Linked DNA regions of Homo sapiens: regions 1 and 3 are each linked to region 2. The links are contacts of gene promoters, found by promoter capture Hi-C in blood cells and fetal thymus (Javierre and others, 2016). All regions are on one chromosome and are shown on one strand. Each heading gives the region's core, a stretch centred on a gene start or on the middle of the fragment in contact. The rest is flanking DNA. Distances are from core to core; before and after follow the strand shown. Region 1 overlaps ZNF746 (zinc finger protein 746). Region 2 holds the start of ZNF786 (zinc finger protein 786). Region 3 has its middle 3.2 kb from the start of ZNF746.

Evidence for each region. Contacts are between HindIII fragments. The CHiCAGO score rates a contact against its expected background, and 5 or more counts as called.
Region 1: a contact is called between a fragment that was not itself captured here and the fragment with the promoter of ZNF786 in region 2, in 1 of 17 cell types (monocytes). The highest score is 5.3, in monocytes.
Region 3: a fragment that was not itself captured here is called in contact with the fragment with the promoter of ZNF786 in region 2 in 2 of 17 cell types (non-activated CD4 T cells and total B cells); the score reaches 5.6 in non-activated CD4 T cells.

Annotation. Positions count from the first base shown.
Region 1 is chr7:149,481,081-149,484,671 of GRCh38, reverse strand. The region is part of intron 4 of ZNF746 (zinc finger protein 746); the gene reads left to right. Among named protein-coding and RNA genes, the nearest start is that of ZNF746, 15 kb to the left of the region's middle. The HindIII fragment of the contact is 208 bases long and covers 1,682-1,889 here.
Region 2 is chr7:149,088,453-149,092,322 of GRCh38, reverse strand. It overlaps ZNF786 (zinc finger protein 786), which reads left to right and starts at 1,605. Exons shown (of 4, transcript NM_152411.4): 1 at 1,605-1,700. The coding sequence starts at 1,683. RefSeq lists silencers at 754-1,243, 1,364-1,663. The HindIII fragment of the contact is 38,912 bases long and covers 1-3,870 here.
Region 3 is chr7:149,499,328-149,502,772 of GRCh38, reverse strand. No RefSeq gene overlaps it. Among named protein-coding and RNA genes, the nearest start is that of ZNF746, 3.2 kb to the right of the region's middle. The HindIII fragment of the contact is 3,449 bases long and covers 1-3,294 here.

The sequences.
Region 1 (3,591 bases), core at 536-3,035, 390 kb before region 2:
GACTGAGAACTCCCAGAAAATCCTTAAATAGAAATGATGATAACAGGTGTCCTATTGGTTCATGATTTTAAAGAGGACACTTTTTAACTTTTCACATTGAGTATAATATTTGCTAAAGATTTTGTTTACAAATATCCTTTATCTGGCTAAAGAAGTTTCCTATGTCTGTGTTTGGCTAGGTGTTTCTAACAGTAATGACTTGAATTTTATATAATTTCTTTTGGTATCCATTGAGATGATTATACATTTTTTTCTCCTTAACCTGCTAGTAAGGTAAATTATGTTACTTTCTAATGTTGAACCAACCTTGCAGTCTTGGAATAAACCTAACTTTGTCATGATCCTTTATGAACATTGCTGTATGCTAATTATTTTGTTTAGGATTTTTGAATCTTTGTTCATGGATGAGATGGGCTTGTAATTTTCTTTTCTCAGACTGTTTTTGTCTGGTTTCGGTATTAAAAATATGAGCTATGATGTATTCATTCTGTTTTTAATTTTCAGAGAGTTTTTGTAATGTTGGAATTATCTATTCCTTCAACATTTAGTAGAAAACACCAGTGGGGCCACCTGAGCCTTAAGTTTTCTTTGTGGGGAAGATTTTTTACTACCGATGTAATTTATTTTAGTTACAGGACTATTCAGGTTTTCTATTTCTTCTTTAGTTTTGGCAGGTTGAAATTTTCCTAGGAATTTGTCCATTTCCCCAGAGTTTTCAAATTACTTGGAATAACATTCATAATATCCTCTATATCTTTTAAATCTCTGCTGCATTTATCATTATGTTCCCTTTTTCATTCTTCCAATTGGTTATTGGTGCTGTCTCTCCCATTCTCTTGATAACCTTGCTAGAGGTGAATTGGTTTAACAGTCTCTTCAAATAACCAACTTTGACTAACTATATTCTATCTTTGTCTTCTCTTTTATTAATTTATGATACTCTTATATGTATTATTTCCTTCTACTTTTGAAAAGGTTCTTAAATGTTATTTATTTTCTAATGTCTTGCATTGACGCTTAACCCATTAATTTTTGACCTGTGTTTTTGTTTTTTTTTTTATTTTTTTACACGGAGTCTCGCTCTGTCGCCAGGCTGGAGTACAGTGGCGCGATCTTGGCTTACTGCAATCTCCACTTGCCGGGTTCAAGCCATTCTCCTGCCTCAGCCTCCCGAGTAGCTGGGACTACAGGCACATGCCACCACACCCAGCTAATTTTTGTATTTTTAGTAGGGATGGGGTTTCACCATGTTGGCCAGGATCATCTCGATCTCCTGACCTCGTGATCCACCTCAGCTTCCCAAAGTGCTAGGATTACAGGTGTGAGCCACTGCGCCCAGCCCCTGTGTTATCTTTTTTAATATAAACATACAAGGCTATAAAATTTCCTCTAAGTACCATTGTAGCTGTAGCCCATACATTTTGATAGATAATATTTTCATTAATATTGGGTTCCAGATACCTTCTAATTTTCATTGTGATTTTTTTCTTAGACTCAGATTATTTAGAAAGCGGTATATTTTAAAATTTTAGTATGTATGGGAGTTATTGATTTCAAACTTAATTGTGTTGTAGCTAGAAAATGCAGTGTGTAAAATACTAGTCGTTTAAATTTTGCTGAAGTCTGTTTTATGACCTAGAAAGTGTTCATTTTTCCTTAACGCTCTGTAGCTTAAAAAGCTTGTGTTTTCTCTGTGTTTGGAATCTGCTTAGGTCCCTTTAATCAGGTTTGTTAGTAGAGTTGCTCAAATTTTATATAACCTTTAGTTGGCTAGATTTATCAATTACAGAGAGATATATCAAAATCCCCTACTGTAAAGATGGATTTGTTCATTTCTCCCTAGAGTTTTATCAGTTTTGCTTTATTATTTTGAAGCTATATGATAAGCTTAAAAAATTAGAGTTATTGGCTGGGTGTAGTGGCTCACGCCTGTAATCCTAACACTTTGGGAGGCTGAGACGAGTGGATCACCTGAGGTCAGGAGTTTGAGGCCAGCCTGGCCAACATGGTAAAACTCTGTCTCTACTAAAGATATAAAAAATAGCCAGGCGTGGTGGCACACATCTGTAATCCCAGCTACTCGGGAGGCTGAGGCAGGAGAACTGCTTTAACCTGGCAAGTGGAGGTTGTAGTGAGCCGAGATTGCACCATTGCACTCCAGCCAGTGCAGCAGAGCAAGGCTCCATCTCAAAAAAAAAAAAAAACCTTAGAATTACTTTATCTTCCTGGTTAGTTTACTATTATGCAGTAATTCTTTTTATTTCTATGAATATTTTTACTTTCAAAGTTTATTTCATGTGATATGGTATAGCTACATCATTTCTTTACATTGTTCTGGCTTAGTACATCTTTCATTCTTTTACATTGCTTTCTGCGTCCTTCTGTTTAGGTATGTCTCTTGTAAACAGCAGATAGCTGGGGGATTTGTTTGGTTTTAGTCTGAAAATCTTTACCTTTACCTTTTAAATATCCAAACAGTAGCCACTATCCACCTGTAGCTACTGAGCACTTGAAATGTGCTGTAAGGATAAAATACATACCGTATTTCAAAAACCGTGTACAAAAACAAGCCGTGAGTACAAAATATGCATGTATAAAATAATATAAATCATTTTATATTGATTATACGTTGAAGTAACATTTTTTATATCTTGGGCTAAATAAAATGTACTGTTAACATTTATTTCACCTGTTCTTACTTTTTTAACATGACTACCAGAGTACTTAAAATTAGATATGTGGTTCACATTCTTTTTTCTTCTTAGCTCTGGTCTAGACCATTTACATTGATTATGGTTATTAGTTTATTTGGATTCTTTTTACCATCTTAAATTGTGCTGTTAATCTTTAGTTCTGCCTTTTCTGTATTTTTCCTGCCTCTCCTTTGGGAATTATTCATTTAGGTATTTTCCTTTTCAAACTATTGTTATTTTAAATTAATTTGACAGTTATGTATTCTATTTCTATTGTTATAGAGGAATCTTTAGAAATTTTTTCTTCCTTTAGAAGTTATTTTTTGTGGGTCTGATGGTAATGAGCCCTCAGTTTGTGTGTGTATATGAGTTTATATGTGTTTATATGTGTGAAAATATCTTTATTTCATCCCTATACAGTGAGTCCTCTGTATTTATGTATTCCACATTTGTGGATTCAGGTAACTGCACATTTGAAATATTCAGGAAAAAAGGTGTCTACTAAACATATACAGACTTTTTTCTTGTCATTATTCTCTGAACAATACAGTGTAGCAACTATCTACATAGCATTTACGTCGTATTAGGTATTATAAGTAATCTAGAGGTGATTTAAAGTATACAGGAGGATGTGTGTGGGTTATATGCAAATACTACACCAATTTATACAAGGGACTTGAGTATTGTGGGATTTTGGTATCCATGGGGTGCCCTAGAACCAATCCCCCACTGACACCAAGGGACAACTGTAGTGGAAAGACATAATTTTAGCTTGAGTGTTATTTTCTCTTAGCTTTTGAAGATAATTTGCCCCTTTTTTCTGGCTTTTGTTGTTGCTATTGAGAATCTGCCATCAGTCCAATCAGGATTCCTTTGTGGATGATCTGCATTTTTTCTT
Region 2 (3,870 bases), core at 356-2,855:
AGTCCCAGCTACTCGGGAGGCTGCGGCAGGAGAATAGCTTGAACCCGGGAGGCGGAGGTTGCAGTGAGCCGACATCCCACCACTGCACTCCAGCCTGGCGACAGAGCAAGACTCTGTCTCAAAAAAAAAAAAAAAAAAAAAAAAAAAAAAGCCAGGCGCGGTGGCTCACGCCTGTAATCCCAACACTTGGGGAGGCCGAGGCAGGTAGATCACAAGGTCAGGAGTTTGAGGCCAGCCTGACCAACATGGTGAAACCTCGTCTCTACTAAAAATACAAAAATTAGCCGGGCGTGGTGGCAAATGCCTGTAATCCCAGCTACTCGGGAGGCTGAGGCAGGAGAATTGCTTGAATCCAGGAGACAGAGGTTGCAGTGAGCCGAGATTGCGCCACAGCACTCCAGCCTGGGTGACAAGAGTGAGACTTTGTCTCCAAAAAAAAAAAATTGTACTGTATAACAGTTGTAAAAATAAAAAACGTTAAACAGTAAGGTGCATGTACATTTCACGATTCTGTGGCAAACACAGATGCGTATATGCTCCTCAGCCTACGCAGGGACTATTTTATTTCTTATGCACATCCTCTCCAAACTACACACTTTTCCTTTGCTACTTCAGCCTGACACCTAAGACATGACTAAGACAGAATGCGAGGTTGATTTTCTGGAGACAATCGCCACCCCCTTCCTCGCCCTCTCTCCTTTCTGTCTCTTCCTGGTTTCCCCACCTCTCCCCTGTTCTTGCGTTCTCGTGTTTCTCACGCCCTGTGTCATGGCCTCCTCCGTCTTCTCCTCCTACTCTGTCTCTGTCTCCTGCCGGGGCCCGGGGTGCCCGACCGCAGCCTTGGGCCACCCTGAGTCCCTGCAGGCGGCCCTGAGGCCGGGGTGGCTTCCGCATGGGGTCTCTGCCCAAGGCCGTTCTCTGCTAAGGAAGGAGCGTGGCCGCCCGGGGAGCCCGGAGGGCTCTAGACCCACGGCGACCGGACCTGGTGGGCGGACCCCGCCTCCGCGTCCCCGGCGGGACAAGCATGGGGCCCCCACGGCCTCCGCGCCCCCGGCGGGACGGATGCCCCGGGCCACCGCGGGCAGCGCGCGCCCCCCACCCACTTTCCGGCCTCGCTGGATTCCCGGGACCCCCTCACAGACGAAGCCTGTCTCGGGGGCGGCTTTGGGAGGAACCGCACCGGAGGTTCCCCTCTCGCTGCCTCTCAGTCTGGGTTTCTGTGGAGCGCGTCTCCCTGTCCCTGTCCCTGATCTCTCCCTGTCCCTGTCCCTGATCTCTCCATGTCCTGCCCCTCCGTTTCCCCTCCGGCCAGCTCCTCAGCTTGTCTCTGACCGCTTCCCTCCCCAGATCCCGGGAATCCGAGGGTCCCTCAAAGACCGGCGTGCTGCGGCCTGCTCTGAGGGCGCCCGGGCCCCTGGGTCCCTCCTCTGAGGACCGACGCTCAGGCAGCGCCGCTTCTTCCTCCCGCAGGAGGCGCTGTAGGACTGAGCGGCAGCCGCGGCCGGGCGCCGGGTCCCAGCATGCACCGCGCCCGGCCGGCGCTGCGTTTGGGGGCCACCCGGGCTGTGCGTGGGAGTCGGGTTGGGGCGGAGCGGAGGGGAGTCAGTGCGCAGCAGGGCAGGTTCCTGCGGAGCCGCCGGAGACGGTCGGGTTTGCCAGGGCCGGGCGGGACCGCGGGGACCATGGCGGAGCCGCCTCGGGTAAGCGGGCTAGCCTGTTTGGACGCCCGGTTTCGGGGTCGTGGTGGGTCCTCGGGTTCCGGGCTCGCCCGTGTCCTGGGGTCCCCGTGAGTGCGCGCGGTGCACGGGTAGGACGGAGTCTGCAGGCTGCTTCTGCTGGGGATGTGGATTCCGGGCCCTGCGGTGAGCAGGTGGCCTCCGCTCCCGCGGCTTGTCCGTGGCCAAACCCCTGGACAAAGCCGAGCGTGGACCGAGGCCGACCTAGGAGCGGGGCGGAGCCTGGGCGAGGATGCCGGGCGGACGGGGAGCGGACGGTGGAAAGGATAGAAAGGTTTGGGGCCAGAGGTGGATGTTACAGGTCAACCAGTTTTACATCATAGTCACCGAAATCAGAACAACTGTTCCAAAAAGTTTAAGATTCCGAATGGTTGAAATGGTGTTTGGCGGGGGCTTCAATGTCAGAATTTATTGTCTAGCGTGATTTGGGTTGAGTGTAAGATGATACGTTGGGAAGAGTAGAAGAGGATACAAAAAATTAAGTTAGTGGTTTCTTAAAATCGAGGTTTAGAGGGTATTTTTATCTTGTAAACTTTAATGTTGAGGATTTTTGCTGATTATTAAATGAATTAGGCCGGGCGCGGTGGCTCACGCCTGTAATCCCAGCACTTTGGGAGGCCGAGGCGGGTGGATCACGTGAGGTCGGGAGTTCGAGACCAGCCTGGCCAACATGGTGAAACCCCAACTCTACTAAAAATACAAAAAATTAGCCTGGCATGATGGCGGGCGCCTGTAATCCCAGCTACTCGGGAGGCTCAGGCAGGAGAATTGTTTGAACCCGGGAGACGGAGGTTGCAGTGAGCCGAGACTGCACCATTGCACTCCAGCCTGGGCAACAAGAGCGAAACTCCGTCTCCAAAAATATATACATACCTATATATATGGGGAAAGGATATAAACAGCCAAATCACAGACCTGAAAATAAATTATTAATGAGTAAAAGAATGGATTTTAAAACTTGTGACATTCAGGCCAGGCGCCGTGGTTTACGCCTGTAATCCCAGCACTTTGAGAGGCCGAGGTGGGCAGATCACTTGACGTCAGGAGTTCAAGACCAGCCTGGCCAACATGGCGAAAAACTGTCTCTACTAAAAAATACGAAAATTAGCTGAGTGTGGTGGCGGACGCCTGTAATCCCAGCTCCTCGGGAGGCTGAGGTAGGGAGAATTGCTTGAACTCGGGAGGTGGAGGTTGCAGCGAACTGAGATGGCGCCACTGCACTCCAGCCTGGGCGACAGAGCGAGACTCTATCTCAAAAACAAACAAACTTGTGACATTCAGACGGTGGAACACTATACAAAATTAAAATAAATTAGCTACATATATGATCAACAGGGCCGGGCGTGGTGGCTCACGCCTCTAATCCCAGCACTTTGGGAGGCCAAGGCGGGCGGATCACGAGATCAGGAGATCGAGACCATCCTAGCTAACACGGTGAAACCCCGTCTCTACTAAAAATACAAAAACAAAAATTAGCTGGGCGTGTGGGCGGGAGCCTGTAGTCCCAGCTGCTCGGGAGGCTGAGGCGGGAGAACCCGGGAGGCGGAGCTTGCAGCGAGCCGAGATCGCGCCACTGCACTCCAGCCTGGGCGACAGAGCAAGACTCTGTCTCCAAAAAAAAAAAAAAAAGAAACTCAACAGGGCCAGATCCCAAAATGTTGAGGGAAGAATACAAGTATAATAAAGTATTTACGTATAAAAGACACAAAGTAATACTGAATATTTACAGATACATATATGTATTAAAATGAACTGGAAAGTTCCCATATTATTTATAATGTTTGCCTTTACAAAGGAAGGAGAATGTGACAATATCAGAACATGATTGAAGAGAGGAACCACAAGAACTTGAGTTTCACCGGTCACATTCTATTTCATTAAAAGGAACTCTGAAGAAAAATGTTAAACTTGTTAAGTCAGTGGTGAATACTAGGATGCTTATAGTTTTCTCTGTAACTCTCTGGATTTTTAAACTTCTAAAAATTAAAAAAGTTTTAAAAGTAAGGAATTTTAATCAGAGAAGAGGAGAGAATGAGTATCTTTAACACAAGTATAAACATACGTTCAGTTCTGCAATAATACAGCATATGCATTTCTAAAAATCATAGTGCTATGCAAAATTGTGCAATAAAAA
Region 3 (3,445 bases), core at 321-2,820, 410 kb before region 2:
TTTTAATGAATCTAAAAACAAAACTCTGATGCTTGTTTCTTATGTCTGGATTTTTCCATATTTCCATATTTGGAGTTTGCTCCAAATATGGAAGGGCCTCCTATATTCTTTTACCATCCACCTCACCTCCACTGGCGCAAGGTGACCTCACTCCTGCCCTGGAGAGCTCAGGTGCAGAGACTTGCACTCTGCTGAGGGCGTCTGGAATGCCCTGTTGTTCATTCCTGTCGCTCAAAGTTCTGACCCCAGAGAAGATGCCAGGGCCCTGGGACGGGTCACTCTCTAAGCTGTTGTCAGTCATAAACACCCTAGGTGTAGGCAGGTTTTAACATCACCATATCAGAATAACTGAGGCTATGGACGCTTCTAGAAAACTTGAAAGGCAATCATGGATGCCAGGGCACTGAAACTTCCTCCACACATCTGCCACTTGCCCACCTTGCCCCTGGCTTTCTAATGCCACATCAGGATCTTACCTCCAGGTTGGCAGAGGGTGATGCCATCATGGTGGAAACTCAGCAACACCTGAGATGCCTGGAGCTATGCTTCTCAGACGGAGGCACGGACCCCCTGAAAGGGAGGTCCAGGGTGAGGAGGGATGTGGGAGTGATACAGGAGGGAGGCAGGAAAGTGCTGGGTAGAGAAAGGCAGGGTCCCTGGCAAAGGCTCTACCCTCAGGCCTGTGCCCACTGACCTAGGTGAGGACAGGTATTTCTGTTTCTGTGGCTAAATGTGGCATTTCCAAGACCACCCTGGCCTGCCACACACCCCATCCTGTGCCTTTAAACATCCTGAGACCCTAGTGGGCACGGACACGAGCAGCTGGACATCGAGAGGAACTCAACAGCAGAAGAACACACGGGCAGACACCAGCAGACGCCGGCAGGCCATCTATGACGGGACGACACGGAGTTCAGCAGAGGCCAGTCGGAGGAGGGCCCGGCCACTGGGTGGCCTGACTCCAGGGAAAGGCCACCTTCCCACTCCATCCTCCTTCTGGCCTCTCCATCCACCTCACTGAGAGCTGCCACCACTTAATAAAAAGCCTTGCACCCATCCCCCAAGCCCACGCGTGATCTAATTTTTCTGGCACACTAAGGCAAGAACCCCAGGATACAGAAAGCCCTCTGTCCTTGTGATAAGCCCCACAGCCTGCCTGCCTACATGCTCCCGCTAGAGGTTTGAGCAGCGGGGCACTGACAAAGTGAGCTGCAGCCCCCATCTCACACCCTGAGAGGCGGATGAGGGAATTGTTCCCATTTCAGGAGCAAGAGAGGGGTTTTGAAACATCAAATAAATTTTTTACTCTGGTCAATAAATCAAAATAATCTTTTAAAATTAAAACAAGCACAGAAGTTTTATAAAGGAGACAAGATTTAATGGATTGTTAAAGTATGACAATTTATCACACCTTCTGGCTCACCAAGGGCCATTTCAGGCAGCGTCCAGACCCACAGGACATACATTCACTTTTCTCTGTACTCAAGGGCTCTGGTATAGAATATTTTTGAGGCACTGGCCTCCAGCCAGCCAACCCCAGAGGACTGTGAGTCTCCCAGCTCCCAGCAGAAGGAAAGGAGGTAGCTTCTCAGAGCCATGGCCCTGACCATCCGCATCTGCAAATTTCACTGAGGGATTTGAGGCAGGAACTTGGCACTGGCTCCATGGGAGAGACTCCAGGGCCAGCTGCAAGTTCTCCAGCACTTCACCACATCTAACCGCTGCAGGGTAACGCTCAATGTGAGAGCACTCAGACAATGTAAGGGAAGTTAAGCTCGAGCAGACACCACCTGGAGCCCAAGGATGCCTGCTGCAATGCCTGGCCAACTTTCACCATGCCTTTGTATCTGTCAGGATAGGCTAGGTTAAACTGTGGAACAAGCAACCCCCAAACCATGTTACAACAAAAAGTTTCATGTTCATGCTGTAAGTAGCTCATCATGGGATGGCTGGGGAGTCTACTCAATGTCCCCCACCTCCAGGATGCAGGCAAATACAGCACCCACCTCCTCAAATATTGCTGGGTTACCATAGTAGAGGGAAAGAAAAAACATCAGCCAGAACTTGTCACATGGTCCAACCCAGCCAGAAGAAACCAGGAAGTGCCATCCAGCCATGGTCTTCAAGAGAAACCAGCTGGAAATATTTAGTGGGCAGCAATGATTACCACAGTCTTTTTGAAAACCCCAAGCCTGAACTTTTAGGCTGTGTGCCTGGTCCCAGGGGAAAAGCTCAGGCCTAAGGGAGCAGCTGGAAAAATAGAGGTCCACCTGTTCTGCTGTACCTGCTGGAGTATAGGAAGCACTCATAGGGGTGCATGGGTCCATAGTCCCTACATCTACACAGTCTATGTGCAGTATGAACCACACACTTCCTGCCTCCCTGACACCTTGAGTTGACATGTGGTCTCATGTTCTCTAGCCCTTCCAGGCTCCTTCTGGGTGTGTTGAAAATGCTTTATGATTTTTCTTCTAGGAATACTCAGCAGGAAGGTGGAGATGGTAGGGGCTGCAGAAGTATTAGAGCAGAGGAGGGGATGATTCTTTGGACCACAGTTGATCACACCACACAGAGCAATCAATTAAGACTTGTACTAAATCATTACTTTATGTTGCCTAAACCTGCCCAGTATTAGGCACTGCAGGAGAGACAAGAGAAATAAGATATAGTCCCTGCTCTCAGGGAACTTATAATCCAAGAGGTGAGTTAGGAACTACTACCTTGTATTGTAATTTTTTTCTCAGTGCCATATGAATGGCACCGAGAATAAAAATTATTAGAGTTGGGACAATGCAGAGCTTGCTGCAGCCGTGATTGGCATGGAGAGACTTAACTGGAAGAATTAGGGCATATGCTGGTCTGGAAAAGGTGTGAGAACTTCGGGTGGGCAAGAGGAGAGGGGAAAAGCATGAGGAAAGGCACAGGAGTGGAAACTCTCATGCCTGCTTTTGACACCTGTGCCCAAAATGGAGGGAAAGGCTTTGGAAGCCTCATATATCAATCCAAGGAGGTTTATCTTCGTTCTTTTTACAAATAGAGGCTGGAAAACCAGCACCAGAGATGCTCTGCAATAGATGCCTGTCTTCAGTGGAGGACAGAGCAAGTCATCATTACCCTAACTTGGCTGTCTGCAGAGCCCCAGCTTCACCCTTACCTCAACCCCTACAAGGAACTTGTTAAAAAGAGACCTTCTTTTAAAATAAGTTTTCTCCACATTACTCAGGACCCATCCCAAAGACATTTTGATTCAGTAGATATGAGATGGGATCCAGAAATCCATATCCTTCACAAGCTTCCCCAGAGACTGATGCAGCTGCTCTGAGAGCCAGGCTTGGAAATTACTACCTAGAGATGACCCTGGCATATCCGACTCAGCCTGTCAAAAGGGAACTTTTTAAATTGCACACTAAAAATGTCTCTTTATTTCTAATGCACTGTATTTCTG